Regions from separate parts of the Homo sapiens genome. Here regions 1, 3, 4, 5, 6 and 7 are each linked to region 2. The links are contacts of gene promoters, found by promoter capture Hi-C in blood cells and fetal thymus (Javierre and others, 2016). All regions are on one chromosome and are shown on one strand. Each heading gives the region's core, a stretch centred on a gene start or on the middle of the fragment in contact. The rest is flanking DNA. Distances are from core to core; before and after follow the strand shown.

What was found. The method cuts DNA at HindIII sites, captures the fragments that hold promoters and counts their contacts. A CHiCAGO score of 5 or more calls a contact.
Region 1: a contact is called between the fragment with the promoter of TAS2R38 here and the fragment with the promoter of EPHB6 in region 2, in 2 of 17 cell types (fetal thymus and naive CD4 T cells). The highest score is 7.3, in fetal thymus.
Region 3: a fragment that was not itself captured here is called in contact with the fragment with the promoter of EPHB6 in region 2 in 5 of 17 cell types (fetal thymus, activated CD4 T cells, non-activated CD4 T cells and 2 more); the score reaches 9.9 in fetal thymus.
Region 4: a fragment that was not itself captured here is called in contact with the fragment with the promoter of EPHB6 in region 2 in 1 of 17 cell types (monocytes); the score reaches 6.2 in monocytes.
Region 5: a contact is called between the fragment with the promoter of EPHA1-AS1 here and the fragment with the promoter of EPHB6 in region 2, in 2 of 17 cell types (neutrophils and non-activated CD4 T cells). The highest score is 13.6, in neutrophils.
Region 6: a fragment that was not itself captured here is called in contact with the fragment with the promoter of EPHB6 in region 2 in 6 of 17 cell types (fetal thymus, non-activated CD4 T cells, naive CD4 T cells and 3 more); the score reaches 16.3 in fetal thymus.
Region 7: a contact is called between a fragment that was not itself captured here and the fragment with the promoter of EPHB6 in region 2, in 1 of 17 cell types (neutrophils). The highest score is 5.9, in neutrophils.

The regions. Positions count from the first base shown.
Region 1 is chr7:141,972,261-141,975,691 of GRCh38, reverse strand. It overlaps TAS2R38 (taste 2 receptor member 38), which reads left to right and starts at 1,919. Exons shown (of 1, transcript NM_176817.5): 1 at 1,919-3,061. The coding sequence starts at 2,003. The coding sequence ends at 3,004. The HindIII fragment of the contact is 7,298 bases long and covers 1-3,431 here.
Region 2 is chr7:142,853,510-142,856,940 of GRCh38, reverse strand. EPHB6 (EPH receptor B6) reads right to left here and starts at 1,865. Exons shown (of 20, transcript NM_004445.6): 1 at 1,556-1,865. The HindIII fragment of the contact is 5,828 bases long and covers 1-3,431 here.
Region 3 is chr7:142,291,869-142,295,727 of GRCh38, reverse strand. No RefSeq gene overlaps it. Among named protein-coding and RNA genes, the nearest start is that of PRSS58, 36 kb to the right of the region's middle. The HindIII fragment of the contact is 5,747 bases long and covers 1-3,859 here.
Region 4 is chr7:143,490,479-143,493,945 of GRCh38, reverse strand. The region is part of intron 2 of EPHA1-AS1 (EPHA1 antisense RNA 1); the gene reads right to left. It overlaps LOC105375547 (a long non-coding RNA gene), which reads right to left and starts at 969. Exons shown (of 2, transcript XR_928075.3): 1 at 1-969. RefSeq lists a silencer at 1,676-1,970. The HindIII fragment of the contact is 736 bases long and covers 1,764-2,499 here.
Region 5 is chr7:143,405,573-143,409,397 of GRCh38, reverse strand. EPHA1-AS1 (EPHA1 antisense RNA 1) reads right to left here and starts at 1,585. Exons shown (of 5, transcript NR_033897.1): 1 at 1,512-1,585. EPHA1 (EPH receptor A1) reads left to right here and starts at 542. Exons shown (of 18, transcript NM_005232.5): 1 at 542-674; 2 at 1,720-1,787. The coding sequence starts at 593. RefSeq lists an enhancer at 1-470. The HindIII fragment of the contact is 7,900 bases long and covers 1-2,294 here.
Region 6 is chr7:142,308,660-142,312,039 of GRCh38, reverse strand. It overlaps TRB and TRBV3-1. Among named protein-coding and RNA genes, the nearest start is that of PRSS58, 52 kb to the right of the region's middle. The HindIII fragment of the contact is 5,998 bases long and covers 1-3,380 here.
Region 7 is chr7:143,433,415-143,436,807 of GRCh38, reverse strand. All of the region lies in intron 2 of EPHA1-AS1 (EPHA1 antisense RNA 1), which reads right to left. Among named protein-coding and RNA genes, the nearest start is that of TAS2R60, 8.3 kb to the left of the region's middle. The HindIII fragment of the contact is 6,221 bases long and covers 1-3,393 here.

The DNA.
Region 1 (3,431 bases), core at 670-3,169, 880 kb after region 2:
ATATTACTAATAATAGTGTTCTTCTGTCAAGCTAACAAAGACCAATTTTTAAAAATCAATCCAAAGAATGTAATTCCAATCTCCAAAAATAAATGGCAGCAAAAGTCGAAACACCAATTTATATAGGTTAAGAATTTTTAACATCTGTTTAGTTGCAAAATCCAGGGACTAAGATTTTTTTAATTACATCTGATAAAGATGTAGTCACTGACTTATATCACTACTAATAACAAATAAGGAGCTTTTGTGTTCCTACCACTGCTCTTACTGGCATTGCAGTTGACTTTACTGTTTTTAGCTTCCTGAGTAAACCATTTTTCAAAAAATAGCCAATAGCTAAGGACTATCTGCAAAGGAGATTACTTAGATAATCCCAAACACTGTGTGTACATAAGTCAAATGGAGGGGGTGTATCAATGAAGGTTTGTGTTACCTTTCTCTGAAAGAGCCCTTGATTATTGAAAAATTAAGATTGGATCTGGTGTTCCAAGAAATAACATAAAGAACTTTATTTTTTAATAAAAGATTATAATCTTGATATAAATGGTTCTAACTGTATAGTTATATATCTCTGCTTGTGCAGTAGAGCAAGTTTCTACCTAGACTTTTTAGGGAGGCAAACATCTTTTCTAAACACCTTTAGTGCAACACCGCCACCTGGTGTGGTGAAGACAAGGAGAAAATTAGCTTAAGTTGAAAGTGCAGAATTCTGTGTTTGACACTCTGTAAGCATGAATGACCCAAATGAAGTGGTCACAAACACAATTAATTAAATACAACTGCTACATCATGATGCACAAATAAGGACTACATAAATATCTGCGTATGAACAGTTCAGAATAAAACAAAAGTGAACATCTTTAGTAATCACTGACTTATGTCACTACTAATAATAAAAAAGGAGCTTTAGTCAAAAGAAAACATAAAAAATACAAAGAGAAAGTATCGAAAAACACCAATGGGGCAGCACCAATAACTCTTAAAGGATTTATCGGGGGAAATTCACTCATAAGTGGCAGTTGAACAATGAGAACACATGGACACAGGGAGGGGAACATCAAACACCAGGGCCTGTCAGGGGGTAGGGGGCAAGGGGAAGGAGACCATTAGGAGAAATACCTAATATAGATAACGGGTTGATGGGTGCAGCGAACCACCATGGCAGGTGTATGCCTATGTAACAAGCCTGCATGTTCTGCACATGTACCCCAGAACTTATACTAATTAAAAAATAAACATAATAATAATCCAAACCAGCTATGCCCCCTTTCCTCTCCCTTCATGACAGCGTGCTAGTCTTGTTCATGTTAATATTCTCCTTGCCAGGCACAGTGCCTGGCATAATAATGATGATTGCATGAAACCTTTGGCAACAGCAAATAAAACTGCAATCATACACTGACACATGGAAAGGAACCATGCATTTATCTATATTAAAAACACAGTCTGTGATAAGAGTCATTACTTCACAGATGAGAGAAGGAATGCAAATGAAAAGAGACTCTATTTCAAACCTTAGATCACCAAGAATATCTGCTTTGCCTGCTGCAGGGTGCCTCAAAACCCATAAGCAAATCCTGTTCTCTTCGCCACCCCCACAGGTCCAGATGGGCATGCAAAACTGGATTGGGGAAATTGAGGCCCTGTTTTGTTTGCATCCGTGATGCTGTGCTATGGCCTTCTGGGAAGGCGGTTGTACAGGAACACCTGGATTTATTAATCTTGCATCACCCAAGAGGTAGAACCATCAGTCTTCCACCCTATGATAAGCTCTTACGTGTATCCAAGAGATGTTCTAGAGAAACAACATCCCTCTAAGTTTCCTGCCAGAACTTTTTATGCGCTCGCTTTGGGATAGATCTAGGCAAAGAGCTGGATGCTTTGTGAAGGAAAGGTCCTGGCTTGGAACGTACATTTACCTTTCTGCACTGGGTGGCAACCAGGTCTTTAGATTAGCCAACTAGAGAAGAGAAGTAGAATAGCCAATTAGAGAAGTGACATCATGTTGACTCTAACTCGCATCCGCACTGTGTCCTATGAAGTCAGGAGTACATTTCTGTTCATTTCAGTCCTGGAGTTTGCAGTGGGGTTTCTGACCAATGCCTTCGTTTTCTTGGTGAATTTTTGGGATGTAGTGAAGAGGCAGGCACTGAGCAACAGTGATTGTGTGCTGCTGTGTCTCAGCATCAGCCGGCTTTTCCTGCATGGACTGCTGTTCCTGAGTGCTATCCAGCTTACCCACTTCCAGAAGTTGAGTGAACCACTGAACCACAGCTACCAAGCCATCATCATGCTATGGATGATTGCAAACCAAGCCAACCTCTGGCTTGCTGCCTGCCTCAGCCTGCTTTACTGCTCCAAGCTCATCCGTTTCTCTCACACCTTCCTGATCTGCTTGGCAAGCTGGGTCTCCAGGAAGATCTCCCAGATGCTCCTGGGTATTATTCTTTGCTCCTGCATCTGCACTGTCCTCTGTGTTTGGTGCTTTTTTAGCAGACCTCACTTCACAGTCACAACTGTGCTATTCATGAATAACAATACAAGGCTCAACTGGCAGATTAAAGATCTCAATTTATTTTATTCCTTTCTCTTCTGCTATCTGTGGTCTGTGCCTCCTTTCCTATTGTTTCTGGTTTCTTCTGGGATGCTGACTGTCTCCCTGGGAAGGCACATGAGGACAATGAAGGTCTATACCAGAAACTCTCGTGACCCCAGCCTGGAGGCCCACATTAAAGCCCTCAAGTCTCTTGTCTCCTTTTTCTGCTTCTTTGTGATATCATCCTGTGCTGCCTTCATCTCTGTGCCCCTACTGATTCTGTGGCGCGACAAAATAGGGGTGATGGTTTGTGTTGGGATAATGGCAGCTTGTCCCTCTGGGCATGCAGCCATCCTGATCTCAGGCAATGCCAAGTTGAGGAGAGCTGTGATGACCATTCTGCTCTGGGCTCAGAGCAGCCTGAAGGTAAGAGCCGACCACAAGGCAGATTCCCGGACACTGTGCTGAGAATGGACATGAAATGAGCTCTTCATTAATACGCCTGTGAGTCTTCATAAATATGCCTCTGATTCTTCAGGAATACAACTCTGATTCCTCACAAAGCCTTCCAATTTCTTCTATAAAACACAATTGAAAGTCTCTCCACTTTGTATCAATGAACTCACTTATAGATGAATAAAATAATTAAGCACTATACATGGCCTAGGCAAGAATAATGTTGGTACCCTAGGTTTGTTTTGATAAAATGAACAAAATAATTAAGTATTTGGTGTAAATCCTTTATATACTATAGCTTATTATTGGTATAAATCAAACCATGAGAAATCATCTCTTCTGAAATAATATCTAAATCCCAAGATAATATGTTTGGCTTTTAACATGACTGTTAAACCTCTTTCTCGGAACTTGTGCTAGCATCATTTTTGGAAATATT
Region 2 (3,431 bases), core at 616-3,115:
GATGTGTGTCTACCTGGTGGAGTGTGTAAGGGAATGTGTATGAGATGAGGTGGGCGGGAGCAGATGCTGTCTGTGTAGATGGGGGCTGTTGCTTTCCTGTGGCAGAAGATGCACATCAGTGCTGGTTCCGGAGTGGTTCCATGGGCCCTTCTTCCTCACCTTCGGCCCCTGCTCTACCCCCAGTCTGGCTGTGAGTTGCTCTTGGCCCCAGGAGGTACTTCTGCAGAAACACCTGGGCTGGGAGAGGGAGCCAAGTGGGGGGCGGGGAGGAGTGGGTAAAGAAAGGGAAACCTGAGGCTTCCCAAACCCTCCAGAACCTGCCATCCTCCTTCTACCTAGAGTGGGAACTCAGGGTCTAGGGCCCAGGCTCAGGACAGAGTGATAGCAGAACAGCCGTCCCAGAAGGAGGATCCTGCCTTTCCCATGCTCAGCCCACCCCAGCCTGTTGCTCCCCAGCATTCTGGTAACTCAGTGTCATTGCCAACCATCTTTTTGCACCCTGAATGGAGTAATAGACTCCAAACAAGTCCTCCTTCTGAGGCCACCAGGTAAGTACATAGACACCCCCACGCTAATCTTCCTTTGAGAAAAAAGGCCCACTGCTCTGAAAAGCCAAGTGGCCCCACTGAGCAGCACTCAGAAGCCTCAATGCTCCAATGCCCCTTACTTGGGCAGCTTCTGTGGTCTACTAACAGCCCCACACAGCTCCCTCCCACTGGTCTCTCAGCTCAGGACCAGCATCTCCCCTCCTAGAGCCTCAGTCAAGTTCCCCTGGCGGGCGGAGGGCCTGGGTTAACTGGGAACAGACCCAGCAGCTCCGCTCCATGGGCGCTGCCAGGGACATTACAACATTGCTATGCTGGGTCCATGCCAGCTCCCCCAGGGATGGGAGGAGAGAGGGTGCCAGACGGCCAAGATCGGTGGGTGGGGGTGTGGGGCAAGCAGGGCCAAGCACCCAGATGGAGGGAGCAGAGCGAGGGTGGAGCTGGGGCAGGAGCACGCAATAGAATTTGGTTGCACGTTGGGGGTGATGGCTGGGCAGCAGGAACCAAGCGTTCCTTCCACCTCCAAGGCTTAACTGTGGTCATGGAGCTGGGGGGGACAGTGCCTTGTGGGGAGCAGGGGACAGGTGTGTGGTCAGCCTCCTGACTCCTCCCAGCTCCAAGGGGATTGGAGTGATGCCACTGGAGTCAGAGGGGTGGCAATCCTGTTCCAAGCGTGGAGCTCCGTCTCTGCGAGGACCCTCCCAGATTAGGACTCCCAAGCCAGAGCCAGAGGAGAATGTCTGGGAACGCAACTGGGGGATCCTAACAGCAAGGGTAATGCGGTGTCAATGATGCCAGGTCAGAGTGGAGTGAGAGGGGAGTAGCCAGGTTGACCGTTTCCTCACCCTTCATGAACCCCACTCTGGCCTTGAGGAAGGATCCTCAGTACTCCCTCAGGAAGCCACCTAGGGGCTGAGGAGCCCCACTACTCTTGCAAACCTTAATTCCTCTGTCCCCAAGCATACTGTCCCCGACCCCCACAACGCCGCCTGCTAACCCCGCGGGCTCACCTTCCCGTTGGCCGCAGTCTCTGCAGGTCTGCGCCCCCCGAGGCCTCGCAGTGGACCCGGGGCTCCTGGAGCTCGCACGGTGCCACCCGCGTCTTCTCCAGTCCGGGGACCCCGTTGCACCCGGCCCGGGTCCGTTCGGCGCCGAGAGTCCCTGGGATTCCGGGGTGGACCTGACGCTGGCGGCAGGGGCTGCTCCAGAGGTGGGGCGCCGGGAGATCCTGGGGGCCCGCGTCGAGATCGCCGTCGCCAAGCTGGGTCCCGGGTCCCGCCGCCCGCTGCTGTAGAGCCGCGGCTGGAGCGAACGCAGCCCGGCCCGCCCCCTCCGCGTCCCCTCCCAAGCCGGCCCGGCCCGCCCCTTCAGCCCCTTTGGCCGCCTTCCCACTCCCTTCTTCCGGGGAGCCGAGCCCGCCCTCCCGGCCTAGGCGGTGAGTGCGCGGCGCCCGCTCCTCCGCCCCGGCGCGCGGGGGAGACGCGGGGCGCGCCCGGGGCCCCGCCTGTGCGCCGGGAAGGGGGCGGCCTCCTCCCGCGGGTCTTGGCCGGGAGGATCGCACGCGTGGGGCGCCTGCAGGAAGTGGGAAGGGAAGAGGCTGTCTGTAAAGCCCCTGCCTGGGCTCGGGCTCGGGCTCGGCTTGGGTCGGACACCCGCGGAGCGAAGCGCAACTGGCGGACCGTGGCAGTTCAGGGCAGGGCAGAGCCCTGCACACACCCCCTCGCGCCTCCCTCCTCTTCGGCTTTAACTCTAGGAACTAAAACAGTGGGGCTCCTACTCAGCTTGGAACTAAGGTGGGCGTGAGCTGAGCAAGAGAGAAGGAAGGAAAAGCAGGGGGTGGAGGGAAAGACAAACTGAGAAATCTGGGAGAGTACGGGCGGTGGTAGGGGGAGCCGAGGCAGCGGGAGAGGGGGGCGTCTCGGTATGAAAGCGTCGCCGTGCTAGCCGGGAACTCTTTTCTCTTTTCGTGTCTGGATCTTGGTCAACGTTGGGGCTTCTGAGTCGAACCTCCCTCCATCTACCCTCCCCAAGGGGCAGGGCAGTCGGGTTGAAAAGGGGAAGCGCTGCTGTACGCCTGGCTCTGACATGGCTTGGGCAAGTCGCTGCACCTCTGGGTGCCTCCTCCCTCGCCCGCGCTCCGGAGAGAACCTCCCTGCAGTGAGGAGGGGCGGTGCAAGGTGCTCTCAGCTGGCGCCTGGAGGCAGGGTTGAGGAACCGAGGGGGCGCCGCGAGGAAAAGTGTTTCCGCCCACCTCTAACCCCTTCTCTAGCCGAGGACGGGGATTTGGGGTCTATTGTTTGGGTCCTACAGAGCTGGGCTGGGGCCTTGCCACGAAGTGTTGCTACCACCTGCTGGTTTTTCTAGGGAGCACAAGCACCCGGTGCGATTCCCTTTGCCCCCTTTTCTCCCTGTATCGCCCTGTCCCATCTTGCTCTCCTGTTTATTAAAGCAAATGGGCTGATCAAAACTGGTACTTAAAGAGCATTCAGAAGCCGAAGAAAATTGTGAAAGAGATCTATGAGCCAACAAACACAATAAACAAAACAATGAAACTCAGTAAGAGTCACCTGGGAGAGACAAACAGGCTTTAATGAATTGACTGAATGAGTGATAGAAAGATAAAGGCTACCGAGCAAGTTCCCACTTGGCCAGGGGTTTGTTCACTCTTAATATCAGGAGTCAATAAATAAGTCTGATAGTATTTAATGACTGCATTTGGACGTCATTAATAATTCCACTTGTACTGACGGTTCTACTTTATCTTGTTTCTTCCCTTTGCCCTGAAACTCAGTGGTGGAGGGCTTCCTTCATTTTCTGGTTATCTCCAAGGCTTTCAAAGACTTCTGCAAAGAAACAGAATTTGCATTGTGTGTGGAATTACGTAAC
Region 3 (3,859 bases), core at 148-2,647, 560 kb after region 2:
TGATATTTGACTGACCATCAAATAATCGGGCCCAAACTATTCTCATCAGCATTCATAGACTATATAGAAAACCAATTATCAGTTGGGGATTGATGCAATTGGAGAAGGTTTTTTGAAGGAGAGTACTCTAAGCCAGATCTTAGGGCAATCTATCTAATCCTGTTCCAAGTATTTTTTTTCTAAGAAACTATTTCTGCTGAATTGTCTACAAAGAAGCCAGCATTAGCTTTGACTACTACTACCTGGCATGCTATTTCCCAGTAACAGGGAGACACTTTTTTGATTTCCTTTCACAATTTGTAACTGCTACCTAAAGAGAAAAATGTATATTTGCTGGGCTGGAGTTTTCACTTATCTGACTCATCTTTAACTATTTTAGAACCTACAATCTTCTTTTCGCTTTGTTGTCTACTTATCTTCTTACTATCTCTCTCCTGATCCTATGTCCCCAAGCTATAGGACAGAGAGAAAAAGAGTCAAAGCTCTAACAAGACGATTTTCCAGCTCGACAGAAGGAAGAAGTTTCCAGAAGGTCCTGTGGTTTCCTGTCCAGAATAGAGGCTGGATGACTGTTGGTGAAGATGTTTTGGACAAGGCTTAAGTGCCCAATGGGGCAAAGAAGAACAGAAGAACTTAAGCATCTACTCTATGCCAGAGACAGTGTCATAAACTGGAAATTTTAACATACAATATTTTCTTCAGAAGCTCGTATTCTAGTTGAAGAGAAAAGGAAATCAAAGCCTGCAACAAAATTCAAAAGTTATAATAGCAACATGCACAGGGTTTCAAAATGGCACCGATAAGAAATAGAACGGATTAGCATCTAACCAATTGGGGCATTATGGCAGTAGAGTTAGGGGAGGTCATAGGTTAATGTCAGAGATTAATTATAGATAGAGATGATACTTCAGGTAAATTTAATGGATGACTAGAAGTTCACCAGCAAAGAGGGAAAGTAACCTCATTCATTCATTCAGCAGTTATTCACTGAGCAATTACTATGTGCCACGTACATACCGGCTTTGAGGTGTAATAGTGAGCAAATCAGACATCATTTATGCCCTCAGGAATTTTAAACAACCTGGAAAAAATAGACATTAAGCAGATATTTATACAAGTAATATGTGACTGGAAGTAAATGTAATGAAAGTAAAGCTGCCTAGAAAGTTCAGGAAGGCCTGACTTTAGTTGGAGAATGCAGGTGGAGTTCAGAGTTCTCCACGATTAGAGTTGAAGAATGATGGGAGTTAACCAGGTAAGGTGTGTGGGAAGGCACAGAGGTTTAAAACAGCATACAGTGTCCAAGAACATGAACTTTGGTGCTGGAATTTAAACTTATCCTGATGTCAATGTGGAGCCACCAAAGCATTTTAAGCGGAAAATGTAATGATCCATGTGCATTTTAGAAAGATTACTCTGATGTGGAGAGTGAGTTGAAGGAGAATAAAGCCACAAACAAGGAAGTGGTTTTAGCACGATTTCAATAATTCAGGAGAGAAAATGTGATACTGAACCAAGTCATAGGTGGTTGACTTGAAAGGAAAATCAAGGATCTTCAAAGAAAAGTCAAGGATCTTTAAGACAGGTAAAATCGTCAAGACTTTGAATACAGGTAGTAAGCAAGGTGGATAAAGAAGTTAAGGGTGGGCCAGGTGTGGTAGCTTAGGCCTATAATCCCAGCACTTTGGAAGCCCAAGGCAGGTGGATCACCTGAGGTCAGGAGTTCGAGACCAGCCTGGCCAACATGGCAAAATCCCATCTCTACTAAAAATACAAAAATAACCCGGCATGGTGGCACACGCCTGTAATCCCAGTTACTTGGGAGGCTAAGGCAGGAGAATCGCTTGAACCCAGGAGGAGGAGGTTGCAGTGGGCCGAGATCGCATCATTTGCACTCCAGCCTGGGTGATAAGAGTGAAACTCAGTCAAAAAAAAAAAAAAGTTAAGGGTGACTTCTGTGTTTCAAGTTTGGCTAACCATATGTGTGTAGCTTCATTGCACTGACAGAAAATATAGAAAGAGAAAGCTATGATGAATTCAGCGCTAGACTAGCTGACCCTAGGTATGGGAGCAGACATGTTCAGTAGAAGTTGGATCTGAGAAGAGCTCAGGTGAGAGTCAGTATTTGAGGGACTGATTATGAATGATAAGAAATTAGATTATAAAAAGGCCAAGAGAGGTAATGTGCACAGTGAGAGAAGAATTTATCCATTGGTTGTATTGAAAGTATTTCATTCTTCGAGTAACGCAGCTCTGTTTAACAGTGCTTTGTGTCATCACAGTAAAACTCTATTAAATCAAGAAAGTCAAGAGTAGTCCTTAACCAGATGAGGTCTGTAAATCCCATACTTCCCTCTGAAGGCATGTTTATGAATAACTTCAGCAACAATATTTGCCATACTTGAAAAATGAAGAATCCTCCTGATGAATGTCTGGATGTCTCCTATCATACTCTTGCTGTTTCCCAGAGGTCTTGGAATATCGATAAAGTTGGTTGGTGTGATCTCGGCTCACTGCAACCTCCACTCCCCAGGTTCAAGCGATTCTGCTGCCTCAGCCTTCTGATTAGCTGGGACTACAGGTGCCCGCCACCATGCCTGGCTATTTTTTTTTGTATTTTAGTAGAGACGGGGTTTCACCATGTTGGCCAGGATGGTCTTGATCTCCTGACCTCGTGATCTGCCCACCTCGGCCTCCCAAAGTGCTGGGATTATAGGCTTGAGCCACTGCGCCCAGCCCTGTTCTCTCTTATTATATTCACGGCATCACTGTTGAGGGCATGAACCCTGAAGTGAGGCTGCTTAAGTTTTAACCATAGATTGGCCACTTAACAGCTATGAAACTTTGATATACTCACTTGACTTCTTTTAGCCTCTTTCTCCACATCTCTTAAATGGTGAAATTTGTAGTTTAACACTTACGATGCTGCTTGTGAAGACTGAATGAGTTGATGCACGTAATCCACTTCCACAGTGCTGGACACATAGTAAATACTTTAAAAATTTCAGCTATGTTATCATTGTCCAAGAATTTTGCATTATCTTGGCATCCAGATTTTGGTGAACTTACTGAGAGAAGTGTTTCATAGTGGTCAGGACCACAGACTCTGAAGGAAGATTTTTCTGGGTTGGAATGCTGATGTTACCGTGTATTTGCTATGTGATTTTGGTCAAATCCCCTACAGTTTTGTGTGCCTTAGTTTCCACATCTGTAAAGTGGGAATTATAATAGGTATCTTATATGGTTGTTGTGAAGATTACTAAATTAATATGGGCAAATACTTAAAATATCCCTGACATACGTGTATGTCAGTATTCTACATACTTACTGACTTATTCAATAAGTACTTAGAATAAGTACAGTAAGCTCAAGATAATTATAAGCTCAAGAAAATTATAAGTTATTAGCATTTTTTAACTTTCCTCCTTTTCTCTATTATAAGTTCAATTAATAGCAATCTTCTTTTTCTAAGGGAAACAAGCTGTTCCTTTAACAATGAGAAGGTGAAGTACCACCTGTTGGGTACTATGCTTACTGCCTGGGTGATGAGGTTGTTGGGACCCCAAGCCTGGGTGTCACGTAATTTACTTATGCAAAAAACCTGCATATGTACCCTTTAATTTGTAATAAGAGTTGAAATTTTAAAAAGAGAAAAGCTAACATGGATATATAAGACCAGAGCAGTCAAAAGACAAAGTATATAATTGTAAAAGAGTCTACATTATGAAACTTCAAAAGTGCAGTCGTTCTTAGAATAAACATATACAGTTGAGATGCCCAACTACTTAAGATTTTTTATCTGGGAATCTGGACACCTGTAACTCTGTCCTGTGACCTTACTCCGCCTTACTTACCTATT
Region 4 (3,467 bases), core at 882-3,381, 640 kb before region 2:
TGTGGGAGGAGGGGTGAAGGTGCTTTCATTTTCTTCCTTTAGGAAGGAGACCAGGTTCTAAAATTTTAGTTTCTCTTTCCTATCTCAATTACTTTCAGTCCCTTCTCACCAGGTCAGAAAAGTAAATGTTTCTGAATCCCAACTTCTACTAAAAGTCCTCAGTGATGCCACAGCATTGAAGGGCAGTAAAAGATATAAAAGAGTTACAGAAGGGCTCATTATGCTAGGAACTAGAAGGACAATTAAAAGTTGAAATAAAATGTTTTTAGAATATGTATTCCACAGGGAACTTAGTAGAGGAGGGAGCTGTGGTTGCAGAGAAGTAGCTGTGGGGAAGAATGAGTAAGAAACACACCAAGAGCAAGTAATTTCCCTCTGGGGATGCCTAAATTCTGAAAAGTTATCAGCTAATACTGACAAAGTAAAGCCTGCATCACGAAGAAGAGGATGAACAACTGTATCAAGGACTTTCTAAGAGATGTACATCTCCACATTCAAAATGTCCTGTGCATGAAGTGAGCACTCAGCCTTGGTGAGTCACCCACAAGGAAGGCTAAGAGGAGGTGGTAGGAGGATAAAGCCCAAATTCCTGGGAGCACCCGGGACTGTTTTGTGATCCTCCACTGTTTTTCTCACTGGTTGTAGTTGGAGGCTCTTTGAATTCCTCCCGTGACCTAGATGATATAAATCAGTGTTTTCAAGCCACTTGATAGAGTCCTAGTTCTTGTCAGTCACCAAATCAACAGCATAAACTGAAGTGCTCAGTATATGTAGATATACATTTTAAAAACTAAAGAATGGAAGTCAAAAGGGAGATGACTCTTTTCTTGGCCTTGAGGCATTTCTATTCTGTTGGAGATAAGAAGGAATGGAGAAGGGCTTGGATTGGTATAAGAACCAAAGATAGACATAGACCTTCATCTTTTCTTGATAAAGAAGATGGTGAGAAGTGTCTGTTCATATCCTTCGCCCACTTTTTGATGGGGTTGTTTGTTTTTTTCTTGTAAATTTGTTTGAGTTCATTATAGATTCTGGATATTAGCCCTTTGTCAGATGAGTAGATTGCAAAAACTTTCTCCCATTCTGTACGTTGCCTGTTCACTCTGATGGTAGTTTCTTTTGCAGTGCTTAGGAAGGAGGCTTACGTATCAGAAGGCTACCAGCCTTTCAGCCTTGGCCCAAGTAGTTTTGCCATTTCTACTGGTGTAGTCCTCTTCCCCGTTTCCTTAGTCTCTGGTTTTGAGTCAATTAGTCCCGTTCATTGACACCTCCCCAATCAGCTATGTGTGAGATCTGAATCCTTTGAACCCAAAACCCACTAATTCATATCTCATTGCCTACAGTCCCACTAGCTATGCATGCTTAGAGCAATCAAACACCAAAGGATCTATTTTTCCCTTCTATACTACTTTAAACCACAGATTATGTATATTCACTTATCACAAATCTTTAGAGCTGGAAGAAATCTTAATGTACCTAATCTAACTTGCTCATTCTGTAGATGAAGAAACTGTGGCTTTAAAATGTAGCAATGTACCCAATGGATACGTAGATGGTTTCCTGATACAGCTTGAAGCCCAGGCCTCCTTATATGAATCTTAGCATACCTTAAACCTCATCTACTTTTTTAAGAGGCAAGAGCACTATTTCTTGTTTTTGTTTTGTTTTGTTTTTTGTTTCTACTTTATTATTTCTACAGATCTGCTGAGCTGATTACATAGCCAGACTCTATGTCTCCTCTTACCAGATGTCTTCATCAAGCTTCCTCTGAAAACTCCCCTGATAAGGTCATGATGACTCACTCTTTCTATTCTCCCTGCAGGCTGAGTTCCTAAGCAGGAGACCAGACTGATTGATTTGTTATCCCAATACCTTCCACTGGACCAGGCGCTGAACAGTGCTCAGTACATGTTTACCAAGGTGAGAAAAGTGGAATAAAATTCTCTGTCCCAAAAAGCTAAGAACGAGGCCATCTATCAATAAAAATAGTTTTTCATCATCTAAAAACATCACCAAAATGTATTGGAATAAAATAGTACTAAGTTCACACTGTGTGCAGAGCATGTACTACCTACTCACTGAGTACAGGTGAACCCTCTACTTTGATTCTTCACTATATTTAACAGGGTCTCTGTAATTAGGTGGTTTAAGCAATATAATGCATTTCAAGGGGCTTTATGACCCACATTCTGAAAACTTTCTGACGTTTATAGCACATATTCTATTGTTTCTTGTCCCCATGGCACTGGGTAGACTTTACCTCTGTAATTTGGACTTGTTGAGCATAGTAACAGCCACTTACGTTTACTTATACTTTACAAAGCACATTCATATTCATTTGTTCATCTGATCTTACTTAAAATGTTGTGAGATAAGCATTATTATTATTCATGCATTTCAAATGAAGAAACTGAGGCTCATAGAGGTCTAGTAAGTTGCACATAGCAGACTAATGGAAGAGGCAAACTCAAACTCAGACCCCTTGACTTATTTAAAGCTTTACCCCCACACCACATGTCTTTCTCTTCAAGGATAGATGGCTGTCCTGAGCTTCCCATCTGAGGTTCCTCAGGTGCCTCCCTTCCTAGACTACAGCTTTTCAGAACTCCTTCCCACCCTTCACTCATGGGCTTGGGTAGAGCTAGATGTGCAGGGCAGCCCTGACCCTTGTTCCAGCTTAGTCTCCAGGTAGATCTGAGACCTGGGCAAATCACCGTAGCCCTATTCCTTGGTTTCCTTGTTTATAAAATGAAAGGAATGAAACACTTAGCCCCTATATTTCTTTTCATTTTAAACAGTTGTGGTTACCTTCTGGAGGGTATCTCAATCCTTGAGGCCAACTCTGAAGGTGAAGATTCTGTCTATAGTAACAAGCAGCATACTGATCATAGTAGATCAGCATTGATCTACTTCTGCTGATACAAGGGAACCATCTCCCTAGGGCAGCAGTCAAAATTCCAGCCCCTGGCTCTGACCCTAGAACCTGATCTCCAACCTTGAGAACCCAAGGCCAGTTTCTATTCTTAGCAGTTTCTACAGTGACACCTTCTGGCCACTGCAGGACCAGGGCTGAATGGAGACAAGATGCCAGCTCCATCCAGGTCCTCTCTGCTCTCTCCCTCCACCAATGTTTCCAGCCAGAAGAAACATAAATTGAATTATGCATTTCAGCTTTCTTGCATTTTATTCTGTGGTTCTGCTCTCATTTTCTTAATGCAGATGTATGGCATTTGTCCTCTGGCTGTAGTGGCTTGCACAAACATGCTCTCATTAGATTCTCAGATTTGACCAAAATCCATTTTTAAAAATTTATTATTTGATCCTCTGGCACTGCTGATTTTCTAAACACAAATCCCTAACATTGAAAGGTGGAATTTCCTAGAGGTTGGTTGAAAGCATAGTGCCTGATATACTCAATAATGTTTTAATAAATGAATCAGTTTGTTAATTAAATTTTTTAAGAGCAG
Region 5 (3,825 bases), core at 336-2,835, 550 kb before region 2:
ATCTCTGCCACTGAAAACCCAGGTCACACCAGCTCTCCCTGAAGACTCAACTAATGTGCCCCGATGACTGGGCTTGCTTCCTCTTCTAATCTCCAGATGCTTCACTGCAGGTTGTACCCCACCTTGCATTGTGGTCATCTAAGCCTCCCCTGCTAGAGGGTGAAGATATGACTCTTACCCCTTGCCTTCCCCGGCCCTATTACCCAGCTCTGGGGCCTGCACAAAGACAGAAAGAGGAATATAGGAGTGTAATTCAAGTCAGAGGTAGAATTAGGTTAAAAGCTGGATCAAGATTGGGTTGAGTTTAGGATTAGAATTGGGAAAAGGTTCGTCAATTCTTAATCCCACCTACTAGGCGGCGCCCGCAGTCTCATTCGGGTCAAGACGCCTCCGGTTCTTGAATTTGATTACCAGTCTAGCAAGTTTCTTTCCTGCCCTACTGTCCCTTTAAGGAGGTGAACCAGGTGAGGCCGGGACTCCGCCCCCGGCGCTGGCCCCGCCCCCCGCCCCCGCCCGGCCCGCCCGGCTCTCCTAGTCCCTTGCAACCTGGCGCTGCCATCCGGGCCACTGTCCCAGGTCCCGGCCCGGAGCTATGGAGCGGCGCTGGCCCCTGGGGCTAGGGCTGGTGCTGCTGCTCTGCGCCCCGCTGCCCCCGGGGGCGCGCGCCAAGGAAGGTACCGACCCCCGCCCCCGCGCCCCCAACCCCCGCGCCCCGCCCCTTCCCGGGGCCCGGCCAGCACCCCCCTGCAGAAGCCGGCATTCCTAGGGGCCATGTTCCCCGAGACCCTCGCCAGCTCTCTCGCTGTGCCCGACCGCCAGGCTATCGACTGGCCAGGCCCATCTTTGGTCTTTAACCCCAAGCGGCTGCTCTCCCGGGTCAGTCACCCCCACTCCCGCAGGCCAGCAATCTGCTCCTGGGAGTGGGGAGGGAATTCCGGACCCTTGCCAGGAAGTAGCACCTGCACCCGCACCCCTGCCTGCATTCCCAGACAGTCCCAGCTTCAGGTGCCCACCCCAGAGATCTGAGCCCTTGGAAGTTGAAGGTGGGAAGTCGCCTCCTGCCAACCTAGGCCAGGGACAGAGGGAGCTGCCTCCGGGAGAAGGGTTAGGACTGACGCCACAGGGGTTCCCAGTTGTCCGAGTCGAATATTCCATGTGAAAGTTGGAACACCCTCTCCGGCCTTACTCCCCCCCACTTCCCAGGCAGGTAGCTGTGCCTCTTATCCCCACTTCACGGCTCTGATCACTGGCCAGGTCAGGCCAAAGCAGGCTTCGGACAGTGGAGGTGAGCCTCCCTACCCAGGAAACCCCTTCTGAGGTCCCCGGTCCACCCTGCCCACTCCTGGCTAGCAGAGGTGAGCTCCTCCTGCCCTCCACGCGTTCCAATCCTGCAGCTGATGGGTGTCCCAGGACGCAGCAGCCTGGGTAACTGAGCGTCTCGTGGGGCTGCTCTTCTTGCATTGACTTTGGTCAAAGACCCAGCGCCCCAACCCTTGTCCCACTCTACCTGCCTTCCTTCACACACACAAAGAAGAGTGAAATCCCTGGAGCTCTTCACTCCTCAGTCCTGAGCCCTTTTTCTCCCCTAAGCCTCAGGAAGTCACAGCTTTTAGGAACAGGATGTTGCAGCCTGGGGCTGAGGCCCCAGAATGATTAATGTGGGCTGCAGGGGCACCTCCTCCCCCAGAGGTGACAGACTTCTTTTCTCCCCACTTTCAGTTACTCTGATGGACACAAGCAAGGCACAGGGAGAGCTGGGCTGGCTGCTGGATCCCCCAAAAGATGGGGTAAGTGTCGGAAGAGGGAAGGATCTTGGAAAACTCCTGAAGGCCAGTGGGAAATGGGGTGGAGAGGTGGGTGGAGGAACAGAGAAAAGAGCAGGAAAAACTGGAAGTGTCTCCTCAGGGAGGGGGAGAGGAGGCTGAGTCAGAGCCTCCTCAATGGGACAAGGGGTGGGGGGGTCAGACTTCACCTCAAGATGAACGCTTGAATGGCCTGGCTCCTCCAGTGAATACTTGGGAATATTGTGAATACAAGCTGATACTTGTGAGGGGGAGAGGAGCTCACATACCCGGGGAGAGAATGCACCATGCTGGGGATGGTTGAAGGCTGAGACCAGTGCTTTGCTTGGGGAGGGATAGAAAAGGCAGAAAAGCATCCTCAATCTGAGATCCATTCATCCCAATGAAGTTGCATTGATAGGTTTCAGGGGGTGGGGAAACCCCATGAAAGTGTACTCTAAATTCTGTATATGTAAGCGGGCATTTTTTTTTCTGGAGAGACCAGCCAAAGCTTTCATCAAATTCTTCAAAGGGTCTTTGACTCCTCCGAAGTTAAAAGCTGCTCCCCTAAAGGTTTCTGAGCCCTTAGCTCATCCTCCACACCTCCTCAGGCTGACTGCGTGCACACCATGCATTCCAGCTGTTTGAAAGTGTCAGAGCTTGTTCCAGTTCCCTTCCTTCCTTGGATGTTCCTAAGACTCAGTGAACAGGTTGTGAGGTGGGTCTGAGAGAGCATATTCAGACTCAAATGCAGAGAGCAGCTCTTATGATGTACAAAAAACCAAACTCAGTTTTTTCCTACTGCACTCTCAACACAAATCACTTCGGTGACCTGTGGTCACCAAAATGCGTGTAGGGATTCCTCCCGCCTGCAGTCAGTTCTCTCTGGCAGATTCTTCAGTGGACAGTAGCTGAGTGTCCTCTAATCTTATTCAGTTCTTACACTATCTACCTGGAGATAGCCTCAGGTTGAGGGCTCAGCCCCACAAGACTGCCCTCCTCTAGACAACAATCACAAGTAACATGTTGTCACCTATACTTCTGTTCCATCGGCTGTAATCAGGTTTACCTGACCCTCCTCCTCGGGTTCAATTAGTTTGCTAGGATGGCTCACAGAACTCAGGGAAACATTGACTTGGATTTACTGGCTTACTATAACGGTTATTACAAATGGTACCATGAACACCAGATGGAATAGCTGCATGGGGCAAGGTATATGTGAAGGAGGCGAGCCACCCTGCAGGGACCTAATCATGTATGGCCATCCAGAAGCCCTCCCAACCCCATCCTTCTGGGCTTTTATGGAGACTTCATTACATAGGCGTGATTAATTAGATCATTGCCCACTGGTTATCAGCTCAACCTTCAACCTCTCTACCTTCCCTGGAAGTTGGGGGTGGGGCCGAAAGTCCCAACTCCAATCACAAGGTTGCCTTCTGCCACCCAGGCCTCCCCCACCCCAGTCTAGTTCCCATCCCCGGCAGTCAGCTCACTAGCATATAAAAAGACATTTGTCACTTCAGGGATTTTGAGGGCTTTAGGGGTTGTTTGCCAGGAAATGTGGACAAAGACCAAATATATATTTTACAATTCACAGCACCCTTTCTGCCAGCAGCACAGCTGGTCACAGAACCACTTAGGGGGCTGCCTAAGTTACTGGAGCATCTACAACTCTGGCTCTGGAACCCCTTCTCTCAGGGTTTCCTTCCTTACCCCAGTACTTGAGACTTCAATCCAGCCCCTGTTTCTGGGGTCAGGGTTACTTGCTTTCTTTCCCTCTGGGTCCTACAGTCCTGGCTCCGTTCTCTGTTCTCCTACAGAGTAGCCTGTAATTAGAGCTAATAGACTAAACCATAGTGGATCCTCCAGGAGGGGCCGTTTGGAAGATCCAGCCCTAATAGTTGACTTATCTCATAAATCAGCTAATCACCCACAGTGATAGCTGCAGGTCAGACTTCTGGCTCCCATGGGCCTTCCTTGGGCCCTTGACACCTCCACCCAAATAACTCTTCCCTAATTTGACTGGAATGGCAGCAAGGCCACT
Region 6 (3,380 bases), core at 12-2,511, 540 kb after region 2:
GTCCCAGCTATTCAAGAGGCTGAAGTGGGAGGATTGCTTGAGCCATGGAAGTCAAGGCTGTAGTGAGCCATGATTGTGTCACTGCACTCCAGACAGAGCAAGACCCTGCTCCCACCACACCCCTCAAAAGAAAAAAAAAAAAGGAAAAGAAATGAAATGAAATGAAATAAAGAAAAGAAAAAAGAACAGAAAATTGTCTATGCCTGGATCTCTAGTAATGTGCAGAACAGACAGTATCCCAGCCCTCTTGAGTTCTTGGGCCAGTCTGACTTGTTCAACAAATACTCCTTGAGCAACAGCTAGGAGCAAGCAGAAAATCACCAACATTTTCACCCCCAGAATTCTATTTGTGTAAGGCAATTCAACATATTCAGAAAACAACTAGAGAATAAAAATATATCTTACATAAAGTTTGAGAAATGTAATCAGTATGTCATTGTTCAATCACTTCATATATGTGATGCCATATTTCCTCATATATTAAATCAGGAGAACTGAAATGAGATGATCTCTAAAGCCCTGCCATTTCTAAGATGTTAGAAACCACATTAGTTCATCAGTTCTGTGGAGAACTTTCCAACTAGGAACCAGCTGGATGACTTCCTATGGGTCTTCTGTACTTCACTGCATAAGCTATTTATGCTTTGTGACCAGTTAAGAATTGGAATATCATCAATTTTCTTAAAAGGTACTTTTATGCCAATATTGGCTTTTCATTCTAGAGCATTTGGAGATACAAATGAACACAAATAAACACAAAAATGAGATGATTCATACTTTCAAAGTGATTTTTACCATCTATTTATTGTTGTATTACATCAGTGTTACCTTTTCATGATGATAATTATAATTGTAGGCATGAGATTAGGGTCGTAAATCTATGTTATATGTAAATCTACATGGGGCTGAGGGAAGATACTTATCCATGATTTAAGTCAAGGATTTATAATTTAGATTTGTTTTAACCTGGGGATGTTCTCAGTCAGGAGGAAAATTGTAGCATTCTTCTAATGCAAAAATTTCATCAGATTTTCAATGTGGCCCATAAAACAAACAAACAAAAAATGTAAAGCATGTAGATTAGAATTTAATGGGGTTGAGTATTCTCCCCCTCAACAGGTTACATATAGGATCGATCTCTATCCTGCTACAGTTGGAGATATTCTATTCACTAGACAAAAACCTAAAATTAGCCTTATTTTAAACACTAGTATTATTACCATTAAAATTGTTTCCATTGGTATCTACTTCAGCAAGAAAACACTTTGGCCCTTCTACAAAGTAGAACAAATTTGAACGAATAAAATTTTATTGCATTGTTTGGCTCTCAATAAGTAAACCAAATTGCAAAGACAATTTAAAAAAAGCAATAGAATTTAAACTGAAAACTTGAATAATGGTGAAAGCGAAAGGTTTAATTGTCCTGAGGACAACAGCTAACATAAGCATTTCCCACAACAAGGGGTGGTGACCAGCGAGTTCAAGTGGTCTGAATTAGGGATGGATCTAAGAAGGAAAATGATCTCAGGACCATGTGAATTGCAAGAAGAGTGAAGAGTGGAATGGTAAATATGAAGAAAAGCCAAGTAAACATATTTATATAAAATAGAAGTAGTATATGTGATTGAAGATAAGAGGACATAACTGACTCCAAGACAGCTGGGATTTAGGACACAGAGTACTACCAAGGAGCCCTGAGAACCTGTGTAAGAAAATCTTTTTTCATTTTTTATTTTTCTTTCTGGGCCAGGTCCTAAGTTGTGTATGCAGAGGGTGGCACTCCCGAAGGCCCAGCAGAGAACAAACTCTGGAAGGCTGTAGACACGGGCAGGGATTTCAGAGGATACCCAGGGCAGGAAGGCAATGGCATTCAGACCCAGTGAGAGTGGAGAGTCGTGGTGGGTGACTGTGATTCCCACTAAGACCCTGGAAAGGCCATGCACTAGCAATGATGACCACATGCTGGGGCTCCCTAAGAGGGAGGGCAAGGCTGAAATAGACCCTAGCAAGTCCTACATTCAACCCTCCCAGAATAAAACCCAATACATTTCCAAGAAATAACATAATGCAGAGCCTCAAGCCTATATTGTCCACAATGCTTCACATCAACCCTTTCTAATCTTTCATGTAGGATATTTAGAAGTCTCCTAATCATTCATGCCACCCAAAAATCTATCTCCTTTCTGATCCATACTACTACCAGTGTTCCTCTACCAAAATATCAGTTTCATCATGTTGTTTCACTTGGAGTAGGACCAATGGCTCACCACTGCCTAGAGATTTGTGTCCAAAGTCCTTTCAGGTCTCCCAATATCCCCAGTCATCTGGCTATTGCCTGCTCTTGAGGACAGTTCAAGATGATATTCATCAGAATTGGGAGAGACACTTGCTGGTCACCCTTCTTGAAGAGAAGGAGCCCACAACGCACAAGGCTACCTCCACCGGCATCTCCTCAACACTTTCCAGTTTACCTATTGCCATGGAATTTCATGCCTCTCCAAATATTTTTCTGTTGAATAAAGTACTCACTGATCATCAGAATTGTCTCTTGATCTTGGAAATATTTCCTTCCCCCTCCTTTATGCTTGTGCTCATCAACCATTTTCAGCAATCGTGTTTTTTTCATAATGTTATATAAAATACGTACCAATATGTGCCACACAGAAAGAAAAGAAAGAGCTTCCCCCATCAGTTAAGATCATCAGTGCATAGGACAGGCTCTTTTTTGTTTGTGGAGCCCTAATACTTTAGTGGCTTTGTTGTGAAGCCCTGCTCTAGCTGATAAACAATTCTGTGAGACTTTTGTGTGCATAAGATGGAGGACTTCTCCACTGGGTGCACTAGCTGGCTGTACTACAGACTGAAACTCCATCAGAGGCCATCAGGGAATGGAGACTGGAGCCCTGGGTGCAGGTGCACACGCTGCCCTGCAGCTTCCTGGCTGAGCCGGGAGGTTTGTGCACAGGGATGCAGTGACTTTGCAGGGCTGTGTCTTGGCTGCTGGCACAGAAATACACAGCAGAGTCACCAAGCTCCAGGGAATTGATGTGAAGATTTAAGTGAGCTTTGTCTGGAGATTTAGGTGAGAAGCGATTTGGAACTGTTTCATTTATAATGAGCTCCTTATTATTGTAGCTAAACATTATCTTCAGAAATTTCTTAGAGTCCTGTTTATACCAATACATAGTATCATGGCCCAGATTTTGTTCACATTTAATGGACTTGTCGTTTCCCATCTGTGTGACCAGGTATTTTGGAGTCTGGGAAACAGCTGTGTCCAAGGGACCTGCAAAGGAAAGAAGCAGAATTCAGGCAAATCCTAGGAGACGGCCTGCTGTTGTTGTCATGGTGAAAAGGCTTAGGGACTCCAATAGGATCAT
Region 7 (3,393 bases), core at 335-2,834, 580 kb before region 2:
CCAGCTCAATGACACCATCTCTATTTGCATAACCTGTATTTGCCTGTCCTTTCTCAGAGCCAGATGCAGAGAAACATTAACAGAATAGAGGCTGCTGGGGTGACTGAAAATACCCACATTTTGTACATGATGTCTTAACTGTACTATTTCTTTCCTAACTCTTCTTTAAAAGACATTGTTACTCTTATTGCCCTCCCCAAACCAAAAACCTTCCCTTCACGTCCTGCCTTAATATTTTATTCAGTAGCCTCTATACACTGCCTTAGCTCACTTCCCGAATGGGTGGAACAGAAAAATCATTCGCATGCACAAGGCTTCACATTACCAAGAAAAGGCCCCCTAACCACTGGCCTCTCATGCTGCCTAAAATTTCACTGTCAAGCTCCATATTGGAGTTCATGGAATCTCCAGTTAAAATGTGGATTTCTCTGATATGTTACCATCATCTGTTAACTGTTATCCCCTTGGCTCCAGAGTGCTTGATCAACCAAAAGTAATCAGTTCCTAAGAAGCCTCTGAGGAAATGAGAGAGAGTAGATAAATCATAATGAGAAGACGAGAAAGACAGAGAAGGGAAACTGACCCAGAGGGGACATCACCATAGGAGCTGGGGGAAGCAAGAGTTGGTGGAATGACAAGAGGAGCTCAGGGCAAAGCTGGGCCACAGGGAAGTTTTGCTTTATGTGGAGTGAGCCCTGTCCTATAACAATACTGAATATATAATAGTAAAAACCACCCTGCTGAAACACCTTGTCTTTTTTTTTTTTTTTTTTTTTGACAGTCTCACTCTGTCGCCAGGCTGGAGTGCGGTGATGTGATCTCGGCTCACTGCAACCTCTGCCTCCCGGGTTCAAGCAACTCTCCTGCCTCAGCCTCCCAAGTAGCTGGGACTACAGGCATGTGCCACCATGCCCCGCTAATTTTTGGATTTTTAGTAGAGAAGGGGTTTCATCATGTTGGCCAGGATGATCTTGATCTCTTGACCTTGTGATCTGCCCGCCTTGGCCTCCCAAAGTGCTTGGATTACAGGTGTGAGCCACTGCATAGGGCCCCACCTTGTCATTTTTAAAGTGATTTCACACATCTTACATTTGGCCTTTACCGCCAACCACACAAAATGACACTGGTTCAGATCAGCCAACCCAGGCTCAGGGAGCCATGAGGACAGGTTCAACTGAGGAAAGAATGCCTATGAATGTGGAAAAAGTAAAAACAAAAGGGTTAAGAGGGAAGAGAGAGAAGGAGGGTAGAAGAAAGCAGAGGTGTGGATAGAAAAACAGGGAAGGGAATCCCCTGGCAAATGTCTCAGATCTTGGAGTCAGGGCTCTCCACCAAGATGAGTCACAGAAAATAGCCTTGCCTACTTCCCATGGTCTCACTCAAGATTCTACAGGTGAGAGAGGCCTGTGTGTGAAAGATTAAAGAGAAATAAAAACAAGGACAAACACTTGTGGTGGCGACTTCAAGAAAAAGAGGTTCAGCTCTCGAATATAGCAATTGCTTGAAGAGCTGCTTGTTTGTTTGTTTGTTTGTTTGTTTTGAGACGGAGTCTCGCTCTGTCGCCCAGGCTGGAGTGCAGTGGTTTGATCTTGGCTCACTGCAAGCTCCACCTCCCGGGTTCACGCCATTCTCCTGCCTCAGCCTCCGGAGTAGCTGGGACTACAGGCGCCCGCCACCACGCCCGGCTAATTGAAGAGCTGCTAGTTTTTATTGAACTCTCAAAAGATTGTTAGAGAGCGGATAATTCAACCTGATCAACTGTTTTGTAACACAGCTTCAGCGTCTTTCTTTAATTCTTTGCATGTCTTCCTCTGGCTTCTTGAAGACAACAGCAATGAGTGGCTTCTGCATGCTCCACAGCATTTTGGCTCGTCTCAAAATCCTTTGGCCGGAGCCCAGATTCATGATGTCATCAAGAAGCGAGCTGAGGCCATGGTACACACGCCCTGTTGCGGTCACGTGTAACCAAGTAGACATCTAATGTTTGCGGGCAAACTTCATGTTCTCTGCAGAGGTGCCAAAGCGTGCACTTTGCCAGAACAAGTCTTCCCCAGGACTTTTCCTTTCTACAGTTGATAGCTCTAGAAAGTAAACATTTTCTCCTGTTTCAATACTCTTCTATAAGAAGGCTGAAAGAGTACCTTTCCCGCAGGCACCTGTTTATCCATCTCTCAGTGCTTCACTAGATATATCTTATGGGGGTCCCATGTCCCATTCATAGTCTGCCACCAAAAGATACCATAAGCAAGATGATGTTTTAGGTTTTTTCTGTTTTTCAAGAGTCCTTCGAATGTGAAATAGCAATCAAAATACAAGGTGTTTCTCACAAAAGTTTGGGTCACATTTCTCTTTTTTAAAGGTGTCTCATTCCTGCAGCTGAAGCTAACGAATTATTTTCTGCAGCATGACTGGAGATAGTTTTTTAGGATGAAGTCTGAGTCTTCTGTGAAATGGTAGTAATGGTAAACAGGTAACAGCAGAAGACTGGATTAAAATGGAAGATTCTGCAAAGAGCTACTGGCACTTCCCTCACGTTAGTCCTCTACACCAGTAAAGTGCTTTTTGGTTTCTGTTGATTCGTTTGTTTTTTGTTTTTATTTTCTTTTTCTTATCACATTCAAGAATACATTCTTGAATTCTTAGAGAATGAATTCTTGGTTCATCTTAGAGACATACAAAAATACATTTCATTTGACAGGTTTCTCAATCTTGGTGCCCATTCCCAACTGAACCTTTGAGTGACGTGCATTGCATAAATACTTCCACGTATTTCCATGGCTTTATCGGGTAACTGATGGCCCACTCCAGGGAAAGGTGGAGGAAAAAGGAAATAACAATGTTTTTAATGGCTAGACTGCACATAAATGTTAAGCTAAACTATGCACAAATTTAATAATGATTTCCCTGCAAGATAAGCCCTAAATATTTTTTCTCACCCTGAAGACTTCCTCTGACTCTTATATTTAAGTAAGTAATTTAGAATAAACATTGGCTGTAATAGCAATCCGGCATAATAGAGAATTTTAGCTTTCTGAAAGTAAATTTGGGAATTTCTAACATCTTCCATTATCAAAATGTGAATGTACAGTTGAATATCGTTTAATATTCAGGTAAATCTACAGACTTTCCTCTCAAATAAAAAATAGCATTTGATAGTTATTTTTGTAATTATAAAGTTAGCCTGCAAGGAAGTTGAGTCCAATTCTATTTCAACTAAAAGATCTTTAGAATGAATCTTTCTCTTTGCCTTGCTCCATTCGAGCATTTAGAAGCAATAAAATTAATCTCTAAAGGAATAAATCAAACGTTCTTCCCATAATGCCATGAACTTCACTCAATGTCTAACATCTACTGGAGGGATAAGTTATGTTCGATAATTTCTAAATCAGTGGT